2 separate regions of the Homo sapiens genome follow, and region 2 is linked to region 1. The links are contacts of gene promoters, found by promoter capture Hi-C in blood cells and fetal thymus (Javierre and others, 2016). All regions are on one chromosome and are shown on one strand. The core of a region is centred on a gene start or on the middle of the fragment in contact, and the rest is flanking DNA. Distances in the headings are between cores, read along the strand shown.

Region 1 (6,662 bases), core at 1,363-3,862:
TCTCAAACTCCTGACCTCAAGTGATCCACCCACCTCGGCCTTCCAAAGTTCTAGAATTACAGGTGTGAGCCACCGTGCTATCTTTTTAAGAGACACTATCTCTTAAAAAAAATTTTTTTAATTAAAAAGTCTCCCAGAGGGGACAATAATGAAGAAAGCTTTGGAAACACTGGAATATAATCACCAAAATATTTAAAGCACATTTGATGGAGTAATACATGTGCTTCTTAACTAACACATTAAAGAATGAGGTCTAGCAGTGAGTCTGAACTGCTGTAATTTAGAAGTAGTGATAAGCAGCCGGGCCCAGTGGCTCATGCCTGTAATCCCAGCACTATGGGAGGGAGAGGCGGGCAGATCACGAGGTCAGGAGATGGAGACCATCCTGGCTAACACGGTGAAACCCCGTCTCTACTAAAAATCAAAAAATTAGCCGGGCATGGTGGCGGGCGCCTAGCTGAGGCAAGAGAATCGCTTGAACCCAGGAGGTAGAAGTTGCAGTGAGCCGAGATTGTGCCACTGCATCCTAGCCTGGGTGACAGAGCAAGACTCCATCTAAAAATAAATAAATAAATAAAGAAGTAATGATAAGCATACATTATTTTTTGAAATTTTAGCAACAACTGTAATGCGATATGAAAACAGCTGTGATTTCCGTTGGTGACAAAGTCACGGGCTGCTAAAACTGCTGTGGTTTTGTGCTGCTTCCCCTATATTGTGCTCCATTAAATGCTTCTGTTAAAAACCAGAGATGTTACCTATAAGGGGCAACAATTTGACCCATATAGCCAGTATAGAAGACTTTCTCAAAGTAGCCACTCAACATTTGCAAAAGGTTTGGAACACAAGTCAGACAAATTTTGGTAGAGAAAGTCAGGAAATGGTTAGCAAATTTCATTCTTATTTCACCTTCCTGATTTTTGCCATAGCTGTGTACTACCTGTACTATAATTTAATAGTTCTATTTTAAAACACTCACTTTTAGGCTAGGTGCACTGGCTCACACCTATAATCCCAGAACTTTGGGAGGCCAAGGTAGGCAGATCACTTGAGTTCAGGAGTTTGAGAGCAGCCTGGCCAACATGGTGAAACCCTGTCTCTACTAAAATATAAAGAAATTAGCTGGGCATGGTGGTGAACGCCTATAGTCCCAGCTACTCAGGAGGCTGAGGCTGGAGAATCACTTGAGCCCGGGAAGCAGAGGTTGCAGTGAGCCGAGATCGTGCCACTGCATTCTAGCCTGGGCTACAGGAGTGAAACCCTGTCGCAAAACAAAAACAAACAAACAAAAAATGACTTTTAAACCTTAAATATTTACTTTATCCTTATTCTATACAATGTAATCCATGAAAAATTGTCAGTTTTTTGTGGACTGTTTTTTTCCTAATATGCATTAGAATTAACACATAAAAAATCTTGAACATCCATCCCCATACCACCTCCAATCTTCATGCTTGTCATCAGTATTATACCATATTTTGGGAAACACAATGAGGGCGTCTAAGCAATATGAGCCAGAGGCCCTGGAAAGTCTGAAGGATAAATTTTACTATTTTATTACAAGTCAAATGTAGTCTTAATGCCAAAAAGCACATGTATGTAAATATTGGCCAGAAAGACTAGCAAAGGAAGTGGGGTTAGGATTTGGCTGGGGGCTAGCATTGCTGAAGCAATCACAGAAGGGAAGGGCTGCCCTGGAGATTAAGATGAAAGCCAGCCAGGCCCGACGGAGATATGGCAGGAGAAATTGGACTTGTGAATCAGGAGGGGACTCTGGGACTGGGGGATGAAAGCTACACGCAAAATACGGGACTGTGGTGTCAGCAGCAGGGAGCAGCACCAGCCCTGAGCAAGACGGTGGGAAAGCAGAGGTGCAGCCTCTCCCCACCGCCCTGCACCCTGAGCTCACACACTCCCGATTTCTCTCTCCCAAGACAGGAACTTTTCAAAGGACTTGGGTTGGACTGCCTGAGTACTGATGCCTCTTAGCCTTCTGGGCTCCAGAATAAATGCAATGACTAACCAATGCGATGAGCTGCTAAAGAAATTGCTTTGGCAGGTGGGAGGGTGTTGAAGAGGTGGTGTTAGTGTGCCTCCCTCAGGTCAAGTCCTGAAGTCAGTTCTGGCTGTGGGGAGTTTGAAGGAAGACATTGGCCAAGATAGCCCAAGTCCTGATTACTTTTTTCTTTCTAAAAATTGTAAGCTTGGCATGGGGTCTCACCCCTGAAATTCCAGCACTTTGGGAGGCTGAGGTAGGAGGATCGCTTGAGGCCAGGAGTTTGACATCAGCCTGGGCAACTAGCAAGACCCTATCTCTGCAGAAACTTTTTTTAAAAATTAGCTGGGCATGGTGGCACACCTGCAGTCCCAGCCACTTGGGAGGCTGAGGTGAGAGGATCCCTCGATCCCAGGAAGTTGAGACGACAGAGAGAGAGATCTTGTCTCAAAAAATTTTTTTTAATTTTTGTAAAATGCACATAACATGAAATGTACCACCTTAACCTTTTAAATGTACAGTTCAATGGCATTACATACATTTACATTGTTGTGAAACTGTCACCACTATCCATCCCCAGAACTTTATCACCACCCCAAACTGAAACCCCACACCCCTTAAACAATACCTCCCTACTCCCCCTCCTTCCAGCAACTGGCAACCACCATCCATCCTATGCCAGGTACCTCATTTAAGAGGAATCATACAATATTTGTCCTTTTGTGTCTGGCTTATTTTGCTTAGCATAATGTCTTCAAGGTTTATCCATGTTACAGACTGCAGACCTGGTTACTTTTAGCTGATAATTTCTATTGCAATCTATGTGACTTTTATCAGCATCATCCATTCTCCTGTCAAATGTGGATTTTTTTTCTGTGTTGATATTTACTTGATTTCTTTCCTTAATTCTGCCAGCTCTCTTTTCTTCTCCAGTTTTGATCACTTATATCTCTTTGTTTTTGTTATTTCTTTTAAAATGGTATATCGAAATGGTATTGATTCTTGGAGTATCTGTCCCTTGTTTGTCAAGCTTTCTTTTTTCTTTTCTTTTTGTATTATCTGGTTTGCATCTTTTGTTGGATTCTGTCTGCTTATCACTCCCCTTTTATCAGGGTACTTTTATCTGGAGCTGAAGGTGAATTCCTGACTCAACCCACTGTGTTTATCTTGGCTTTCTTTCACTGTCCTCTTAAATATAAGCTGCCTGGTTGGATGTTGTCATTGGTTTTGCAATCTCTCTTTAGTTCTGTGCCTTCTTTGGTGAATAGAGGGGTATGACCTGAATTAATAGGTAGTTGAGTGTCTCAATTTGGTTGTGTTGTCTTGGAGTATTTTTCACGCAGAATCCGGTGATTTATCTACCATAGAGGCCCACACAGGTCCATGGGAGGAGGTCTCCCCTGAGATTTGAGCTATTTCCTCTCCATTTCACAGACAAACAGGTCATTCTGGTTGAAAGCAGGGCCCTTATAGAGCTCCATGGCACACAGGGTTTTAATTTGATGAGTCATCTTTTGTTGATCTTTGCTTAAATAGCTTTAGTCCACAGTTGCATAGTTGATTTTCAGGCTGTAGTTTCTTTCCTCTGTGAAGGTTTGAGGTTTGTTCCTTCATTACCCTTTTACTTTTTTTACTTAAAAAACAAAAACAAAAAACGGCCAGGTGAGGTGGCTCACACCTGTAATCCCAGCACTTTGGGAGGCCGAGGTGGGTGGATCACCTGAGGTCAGGAGTTCAAGACCAGCCTGGCCAACATGGGGAAACCCCATCTCTACTAAAAATGCAAAAAATTAGCCGGGCATGGTGGCACGTGCCTGTACTCCCAGCTACTCAGGAGGCTGAGGCAGGAGAATCGCTTGAACCCGGGAGGTGGAGGTGGCAGTGAGCCAAGATCCTGCCACTGCACTCCAGCCCGACGACAGAGTGAGACTCTGTCTCAAAAACAACAACAACAATAATAACAACAACAACAACAGTAAAAGAAACTGCCTCTGCCTGAGACTCAGAGAAATGAATATTAGCTCTAAGGGTTTTTTTGTTTTGTTTTTTGTTTGTTTTGTTTTTGAGACAGGTCTCCCTCTGTCACCCATGCTGTAGTGCAGTGGCATGATCACAGCTCACTGCAGCCTTGACTTCCTGGGCTCAAGTGATCCTCCCACCTCAGCCTCCCAAATACCTGGGACTAAAGGCATGAGCCATCTTGCTTTTTCTTCTTTTTGTAGAGACGTGGTTTCACTGTACTGCCCAGGCTGGTCTTGAACTCCTGCACTCAAGCCATCCTGCTGCCTTGACCTCCCAAAGTGTTGGGATTACAGTCATGAGCCACCGTGCACAGCCTGGCCTAAGTTTTATTGTGTCTGACAATGGAACACAATGATTATTAGGACAGGCTCTGGAGTCAGAGTGCCTAAGTTCCAGTACTGGCTTTGCCACCTATTAGCTCATGACCGTGTACAATTTATTTAATTTCACTGAGACACAATTTCCTCATCCTTGAAATGGGGCTAAGACTATTACCTACTTCAGGGCCAGGCATGGTGGCTCACGCCTGTAATCCCAGCACTTTGGGAGGCTGAGGTGGGCGGATCATGAGGTCAGGAGATTGAGACCATCTGGCCAACATGGTGAAACCCTGTCTCTACTAAAATACAAAAAAATTAGCCGGACATAGTGGCAGGCGCCTGTAGTCCCAGCTGCTTGGGAGGCTGAGGCAGGGGAATCGCTTGAACCCAGGAGATGGAGGTTGCAGTGAGCTGAGATTGCACCACTGCACTCCGGCCTGGGCGACAGAGCAAGACTCCATCTCAAAAAAAAAAAAAAAAAAAAAGAGTATTACCTACTTCAGGGTTGATATGAGGATTAAGTGAATTAATACAAATGAAAGACTTAGAGCAAATCCTGGCTCAGTAGATGTTAGCCATTATTATTCTATTTCTTGTAGACTAAGTTAGGAGTGATTGTTCACCTCCTCGACCATCTTTTTTTGTTTGTTTGTTTTTTGAGACAGAGTCCTGCTCTGTCGCCCAGGTTGGAGTGCAATGGCGCAATCTCGGCTCATTGCAACCTCGGCCTCCTGGGTTCGACTCCAGGGTTTGAGTGATTCTTGTGCCTCAGCCTCCCGAGTAGCTGGGATCCTCAACCATCTTTACAAGAAGTTCTTGAGGAATAAATACAACAATGTCTGGAAAACCCATGACACGATGCTTGACACATGATAAGCCCTCAAAACATATTTTTTTTGAGACGGAGTTTCACTCTTGTCTCCCAGGCTGGAGTGCAATGGTATGATCTTGGCTCACTGCAGCCTCCACCTCCCGGGTTCAAGCAATTCTCTTGCCTCAGCCTCCCAAAGTATCTGGGATAACAGGCGCCTGCCACCGCACCCAGCTAATTTTTGTATTTTTAGTAGAGACGGGATTTCACCGTGTTGGCCAGGCTGGTCTCGAACTCTTGACCTCATGATCCACCCACCTCGGCCTCCCAAAGTGCTGGGATTACGGGCATGAGCCAGCGCGCCTGGTCTCAAAACATTTGTTGAATGTTAAGTAATGAGTATCCCTGCCTTTGTGGCTCAGGAAGAGGAAGGGTGCAGTGAGGGATGGAGGTTGGGGAGAGCGGCTGCCCAAGAGTTTATCTTTGCTGTGGGATATAGGTCCCCCTTCCTCCCATTCAAATATCTCTATATGCTTGCCATCAGCAAATCAAAGATAAGAAAGACAGGAGACTGCAGCCTTAGAGTTCTCCCAACACCTCTTTCCTCACTTGGGTTCTAAATATTGAAAAGTAATTGTATTAAGCAAACAAAAGGCAAGTGATTATACACTTTAACGCATTCCCTAAACTAAACTCAACAATATTCATACATTTCTAGCTACTGAGAAGGCAGATGTACAAACATGCCTTGAATTATCTCAAACTAATCTGCCCCAGGTTTATGATGGGCTTAAAGGTTAACATGATTCTCAAGAAATCCCAAGAAAGATGTGATATTTATGGCACACACCAGTTACTCTCCCCAAGATAAGCTGCTCACTTCACAGTGGGTCCACGTTTCCTGCCTTGCCTACAGCCCTTGCTACCAAAGGATCAAACAAGACCCTTGACTTGGCTGCACTCTGTGCATGATGGGGTGTTGCTGCACACACGCAAGGGGCCTTCCAAACTGTCTTCTGGTTTGTGTATGGTGTAAGGGTTTGGAGAAGTTCATGCATCCCAGTTGTAGGAAGTGCATCTCACTATGCTAGCTCATAGGTGACCACTGTCTCCATTACTCTCTAGGAATGCATAATCTTCCAGCCAGTTGGGATTAGGTTCTGTTCTAAGTGGCAGAAACCCCAGAATAACAGTGGCTTAAAGAGGGTAAAAATTTGCTTTATTCTCAAGTGAAAGTATGGGTGGACAGTGCAGGACTGCCTCATCAGAGACCTCCTTTCATCTCGTTACCATTCTCAACATGTGGCTGCCACTTCATGGCTCAAGACGGCTGCTTCAACTTGAGCCATCCCGTCTTCTTTCCAGCCAGCAGGCAGGAGAAAAGGGGAGGAGCAGGGCATGCCCCTCCCATGAAAGACGGTTTGTGCAATTTCCTACAAATTACACAAAACATTTGCATCTACATCCCAGAGCACAGCCAATTGGCCACACCCAGCTGGAAGGGAGGCTTAGA
Region 2 (6,662 bases), core at 2,675-5,174, 160 kb before region 1:
GCTCTCTTACCTTCTGAGGACAGAAACAGCTGACAAGAGTACCATTTGGGGTCTCAGTTCACTCTTTCCTTGTTTATTAAATATCAACTTTTCCTGCCTAATGGGCTGAGGTTCATTTTCCCATTCCTCAAGGTAAGGGTAGACTACCTAGGAACTTATTGCATCTTTAGGCCAGCTGGCTTAGTGCTACCCATCTGAACCCCCAGATTACTACCCAAGTCTTCCTTTTGCCCCTTCCTGCCCTAACAGCAAGTACCAGGCCAGTCCCTTCCCCAGCAAATGCCAGGGGCTTCATGTGAAGAGGAACTGGCCACAAGGCTGAGGGGAGGAGGAGAAACTGTTTCTGCAGGAAGGACAGCAGTGCCTCCAGGCTCTTGGGCATCTTCACATGTTTCTAGATAAGGACAAGCTCAACTCTGGAGCCTCTGGTAGGCAGAAGAAAGGAGGCAGGGAGTATGGCCTGGGCTTCAGATACCGCTGTTCTGGATGGATCCACAGATGACGAAGGCAAGGTTCCTGGGACCTGGAGTCACACAGGGCCATAGCCAAGCCTTTTCACTAGAAGGGCAGGCAGTGCCCATTCATCTTGTCAGCGGCAACCTCAGCTGTGGACCCGAATGGAGTGAGCAAAGGGAGTCCAGGCCTCCACTCTGCTCTAGAGATGGCAGTGTCCAGGCTCCTGATTCCCAGGAAGCAGGGAAGCTAAAGGAAACCTGGAAAGGCACTCTGGAGCAGCAGGATGGTCACAATAATAAGCCCGACACACAGCAGGAGCAGGAGCCACACAGGAACACTCCCTGCAGGAGGGAAAGGGAGGAGGTCAGCGGGCAAAAGGGCTTCCCAGCCTGAAAACCAGAACCCTTCAAAGGAGGAGTGGCACAAAGAGCCCAGCCTCCGGGGGGCACGTTTCTGGTCATTAAACGTGGGGTGGTGCCTGCCTGCCCTGCCCCAATGACTCACGCCGTGAGGGCAACAGATGCAGCTGGCAACGACTGTCCACAGCCACAGAGAACAGGGCAGTTTCATGGGACCCAAGGAGCTCTGGACCACGACCCTTCTCAGGTAGAAAGGCCACATCCGTCACCACAATGCCATGGGCCTCCCTCACGTAGTAGAGGCACTGTGGGCAGAAGGAATACCAGTGAGGAAAGGCCTAGCTGGGAACTCTCTTTCTGGAAAGCATGTTCCCCACCCCCAGGATTTCCCTCGATAGGATGGGCCAGACTCCTTCCTGCAAACTCAGGGTAGAGACAGGCCTACAGTCCACCCACAGGGCCATGCCAACCTCCACCCATTACCTGGAGAGAGAAAGCTATGTAGATGGCAACAGAGCCAGTGACTGTGCCCAGGCCTAGGAAGGTGCCGGATTCACTGCAACAAACAATAAAGAGCTCATTGTCCTGGAGGCTTGTGCAGCAACCCTCATACCCCAATACCGGTCCGTAGGGACCCAGGCAGGACTCCTTTCCAAGCTCCCTCAGGGACCCCCTACCTAGCCAAGGCAGCAATGTCTCACACCTGACATCGAGGCAGGAGACGACTTCATGGCCACAGGACTTGGTCCGAAGGGGCAAGAAGTTGGAGCCATCCCAGGCTGTGAGGTAGCAGGGAGGGGGCTGGCGCAGGCGCTTGTGGGGAATTTGCACTGTGAAGAGTCGCAGGCCAGCAGGCTGGTCTGGAACCTGCCCAAACCTGGGGGCCGGATGAGGGGCTATTCAGCTCCTAGGGCCTGCCCAACCCTCCTCAGAGGTTTGTGCACCACCTGCACCCTGGTCAGACCTGGGGTAACACTCAACAAGTTCCTCCCCAGCTCTCCCATCCCCAGTCTTTTCCCTCTCCCCCACCACAGCTGGGCTATGCCTCTTTCAGCCACCACCCAAAGTCTTCACACCTGCAGGCCTGGTAGCGGTAAGGTGTGCTGGAAAAGGTGGGTCCATTTTCTTGCCAGTGCAGCTGTGTCACCAGCTGATCCTTCTGCCACACAGAGGCCTTAAGGTCCCGGCCCACGGTTACCAACTAGTTAGGAATAAAGATTCCAAGGATGGACAGTTAGGGGATCCACTTACTGGGCAAGCAGCATAAGCACCTCCTCTCTCCTTTCTCCATCCTCCTCCCACCCCCAGCCCCTCACCTTGCCATCAGGCCCTAAAGCCAGGTCTTCAATCTCCCCTTCGTGGGCTTTGAACTCCAGAACCTTCTCCAGGCTGGGCACCTGTAGCCAAACAACCACCATGGTTAACTCAGGTGTCCAGCAAGTACACTGTGACTGATGCCCACGCCACCCCTTCTAATGGCCCCTCAATGCAAGCTTCATTCACAAGTTTCCCAGATGCCACGTTCAACTTCTCACAATTTTGATCCTGTTGCTACTGACATTCACCCTCCCTAACCCTGCAAACCCACACCTTCCAGACACGGACGTAGCCATCTGTTCCTCCAGTGGCAAGCAGGGTATTATCGTGGTTGAAGCACACAACTTTCTGCAGTGGATCGGAGCTAAAGTCTGTCTGCACCGCCTGCAAATTCTCTACCCTGAGTTCTAGCCCCTCGTGCTGGGTTTCCGCTCCACATTTCTTCTCTGCTGGGGCTGCTCCCTTCCTTTGTCGAGGCCCCTGCTCCTTGGAACCTGTAACACAAACACTTGGCCAGGTTCCAGGCTTCTACAGTAAGGAGTACTGGCCCCTCTCTCCATGGCAGGTGCCCATACAACTTCTAGCTTGCTACCAAAACCCTACTTCCAGACCCACTTCTTTAGAGACACCAAGAGTGACCTTACTCGTTCAACCCTTTCCCCAAGGGGGTAGAGAGGGAGCTCCTCACCGGCCTTCTCTGCCTTGTTGCCCTGCTGTTGATGTGCCTGGAAGCGCAGGAGCTGACAGTGGGCATCCTGCCCTGCAGCAAGGATGTCACCAGCCAGTGCCAAGTTCATGGTGGCCCGTGTCTCTGTGTCATGGGAGTGCAGCAAGGAGGCACTCAAGCGCCCATTAATCAGCTCTAGCTGCAGAAAGTGCTGTGGGAGGGGGAACCCGGATGAGCAAGTTCAGGGGTGCCCAGAGAGCACGTTTAGGGAAGAGTCTGATGTCTTACCCCTTTGCTTTCTGCACGTTCTAGTTCACAAGGGTTTCTCGAGTCTTTTTTCTCTCATTTGGGCCTCACAAATCTACACAGTGAGCAGGACTGGGATTATTACCTCTATTTTACAGAACAGGGTGAAGCTCAGGAGAGGGAAGGAACTTAGCCTAAACCCAAATGCACCACTCTCGCCGCTGCTAGAGGGCAGGCAAGACCTCCCGGAAAAGGCCAGTATAAGACCCCTGGAGCTGCTCTGAGGCGGAGCTGAAGCGTTCCTGGCGACTCTGCAGCTGTGTGCAGTTTTCACTTTACCTTAAAAGCCTCTCCTCCGCCCGCTGAGTTCTCGACTGAAATTCGCCCCTGGGCGTCAGGCAAGCGGGTCTTCCCAACAGAAGTGGGCAGGGCCCGAAGCTGGAGTGTGGCCCGCCCCGCGACCCCCCGGCCACCCTGGAATCGCCGCCAGCCCGCAGCAAGACCCAGCCCCAGTGGCCCTGCGCTCTCACCACGCCATTCTTTATGCCTGTCTTGGCGGCGCCTCCTCCGCCCGCAGCGATGAGCAGCCCAGTGCTGGGGTCGACCTGAAGCGCGTACAACGGGAACGGAGCCCGGTACAGCTCTGGCGCCCGGCGCCGGCCCATCCCGCCCGGCGCGCGTTCACTGCCCGCACCGCGGCACCCAGGACATGCCGCGCCGGGCCTTCGACTACTGCCCCGGCGGCTGGTGAACTCGGCCCCGTCGCCGCCGGGAGCACTCCCTACCCCTCTCACACCGGGGAGTTGCCAAAACCCTGACCATCAGCAGGAAGCCGAGCCTCAGCTCGGCTCCGTCCAAGTCGGTCTCGCAGACGCGCACTGCGCATGCGCACCTGTCTCGCGGCTCCCTCCGCGCAGGCGCAGGAGCGCCGACACGCGTCAGCACTAGCCGGCCGCGGGGCCGCGTTTCCCGGGGCGGGGCTTCGGTTCTCCACCCCTGGCGCGGAGGCAGAGTCGCCCAGCACCGACTTCGCCATTTTTGTGCGGGGCGCGGGGCGCGGGCGGAGGAGGTGGAGCCAATGGAGGTTGATGAAGGTCAACCTTTAATAAAGAAATCCGACTCGCGCCTGTAATCCCAGCACTTTGTGAGTCCTAGGCGGGCGGATCAGGAGTTCGAGACCAGCCTGACCAACATGGAGAAACCCCGTCTCTACCAAAAATACAAAGGGCGTGGTGGCGTGCGCCTGTAATCCCAGCTACTCGGGAGCCTGAGGCAGGAGAATCACTTGAACCTGGGAAGTAGAGGTTGCAGTGAGCCGAGATCGCGCCATTGCCATTGCTCTTCAGCCTGGGCAACAAGCAACAAGAGTGAAACTCCGTCTCAAAAAAAAAAAAATCCTCTGCCAGGCACGGTGGTTCATGCCTGTAATCCTCCTGTAATCCCAACACTTTCGGAAAGTCCGAGAGAGGAGGATGGCTTGAGCCCAGGCTTTCGAGACAGCCTGGGCAACATGGGGATCCGTCCCTACGAAATATTTAAAAATTAGCCAAACATCGTGGCACCTGTGGGCCCAGGTGCCCAGGAGGCTCAGGCGGGAGGATCACTTGAGACTGGGAGGTCGAGGCTGCGCTGGACCACCAGTGATGTCACCACTGCACTCCAGCCCCTGGGCAACAGAGCTAGACCCTGTCTCTCACACACATAAAATCCTCAAATAAGGACTGTTCCCATCTGAGGAGTGATATGCCAACTCCTAGGAGCACAGGCCTTTGCATCTTACCTCAGAGAGGAAGTGATTTGCCCGAGGGCACACACCAGAAACCACCGGAGTCTCTTGCTTCTTAACGGAGGCAGCATGAACTTAAAAATAAACCTGACTTCAAATGCTGAATCCATTGCTTCCTCGTATGAGGACACGTCTGTCATCCTTAACGCCTATCGCCCACTTTTGGCAGGGGTGGTGTCTGCCATTCCCTTTCTCAAGGCTTCACACTCCTGGGCTGGTGGCTTGGTGGGTGGCCAGCTGCTTTGCTGGCCTCAGAGGGGGCAGTTTGGCTCCCGGGCAGGTATCTTCTGCGCCTGACACTCCATTCTCCCTCGGGTTTCTGATCTGATGAGGACCTTTGTGCACTCCTGAGAGCGAGCACAAGGGATGTCCTTCCCTGCAAAGAGACGCCCTCTCCTGCATTCTCATTAACCTAAGGTGCACCCAGAGGAATAGCGCAGTGGCTTCATCTTTGGGGATGCCAATATCTGTCCCACAGAGTTGAATTAGATGTGTGAAGGGCCTGGCCAAGCTCTCTGCATATCTCAAGTCCCCAGGCCTTGTGGGTCCCTTGTCCTCCTTGGATACATGGCACCTGCTCTTTCTGGCCTCTCCGTTTCCTTTGACACCACCCTCCAGGGTCTTTTTTATTTTTTGAGACGGAGTCTCGCTCTGTTGCCCAGTCTGGAGTGCAGTGGCCTGATCTCAGCTCACTGCACCCTCCACCTCCCAGGTTGAAGTGATTCTCCTGCCTCAGCCTCCTGAGTAGCTGGAACTACAGGCACCCGCCACCACACCCAGCTAATTTTTGTATTTTTAGTAGAGATGGAGTTTCACCATGTTGGCCAGGCTGGTCTCGTAACTCCTGACCTTAAATGATATGCCCACCTTGGCCTCCCAAAGTGCTGGGATTATAGGCATGAGCAACCACACCATGCCCTCTTTTTTTTTTTTTTTTTTTTGAGATAGGGTCTCTGTCACCCAGGCTGGAGTGCAATGGCATGATATAGCTCATTGCAACCTTGAACTCCTGGACTCAAGTGATCCTCCCACTTTAGCCTCTTGAGTAGCTGGTAGTACAGGCACGCGCCACCATACTCAGCTAATTTTTTTATATTTTTGTTTTTGGAGAGACAGGGTCTTGCTATGTTGCCCAGGCTGGTCTCAAACTCGTGGCTTCAAGTGATCCTCCTACCTCAGCCTTCCAGTGTGTTGGGATTATAGGCATGAACCACCCCCTCCCCGCCACCAAGGGTCTTGTTAGGGACTGGCACCCCTATAGTTACAGCCACCTATTCTGTGGACTCAGCAGGACGCAAACACAAGTTTCACAGGGTCAGACTTTATTAGATACACGGAGGGCTGAATGGGGCCTTGGTGCCCTTGGTCCTCTTCAGCCTGGAGACAGCAGACTCCACAAGGGGCTCCCAGGGTTCAGAGCAGGAGAACACACCTGACCTCCGGCCAGCCAGCCCTTCAGGGTGTCTCGGGGACTCCCCGAGATCTGGGGCCTGGTTGGGAGGGTTGGGTTTGGAGGGGGTGTTCCAGGGGGCCTCCGTGGCTCTGGAACTAGACTGATGACTTTTGGAGAATGAGCTCCAGAGAAACTGGCCTCTTTGGGCCAGGGCAAGGCCTGGGCTTCAGGGAGGTAGTGACCTGTTTTGGTGCCCGAGGTGGAGGCCCGGAGAAACATCGTGGGGAGTTTGGTGATTGAAGGCCTGCAGACCTGAAGCTCCTGGTCTGGGAGGGTGTGCCTGGGACTGGGTCGGCCCGGGCCTGAGCTGCTGGAGGCTGAGATGCTGGCAATTGATGCCCACAGGCCTGAGTAGCCTTGCCCTGAGGCCCTGCTTCC

Evidence for each region. The method cuts DNA at HindIII sites, captures the fragments that hold promoters and counts their contacts. A CHiCAGO score of 5 or more calls a contact.
Region 2: a contact is called between the fragment with the promoter of PREB here and a fragment that was not itself captured in region 1, in 5 of 17 cell types (naive B cells, M2 macrophages, total B cells and 2 more). The highest score is 7.7, in naive B cells.

What each region holds. Positions count from the first base shown.
Region 1 is chr2:27,290,088-27,296,749 of GRCh38, forward strand. All of the region lies in intron 1 of TRIM54 (tripartite motif containing 54), which reads left to right. Among named protein-coding and RNA genes, the nearest start is that of TRIM54, 11 kb to the left of the region's middle. The HindIII fragment of the contact is 823 bases long and covers 2,202-3,024 here.
Region 2 is chr2:27,130,712-27,137,373 of GRCh38, forward strand. PREB (prolactin regulatory element binding) reads right to left here and starts at 3,925. Exons shown (of 9, transcript NM_013388.6): 1 at 3,576-3,925; 2 at 2,821-3,010; 3 at 2,406-2,626; 4 at 2,132-2,212; 5 at 1,892-2,016; 6 at 1,519-1,692; 7 at 1,299-1,371; 8 at 961-1,120; 9 at 45-797. The coding sequence starts at 3,710. The coding sequence ends at 703. It overlaps ABHD1 (abhydrolase domain containing 1), which reads left to right. Exons shown (of 9, transcript NM_032604.4): 9 at 1-101. The coding sequence ends at 33. It overlaps PRR30 (proline rich 30), which reads right to left. Exons shown (of 3, transcript NM_178553.4): 3 at 6,137-6,662. The coding sequence ends at 6,380. RefSeq lists a silencer at 3,644-3,743 and enhancers at 3,682-4,338, 3,814-3,863. The HindIII fragment of the contact is 5,539 bases long and covers 2,307-6,662 here.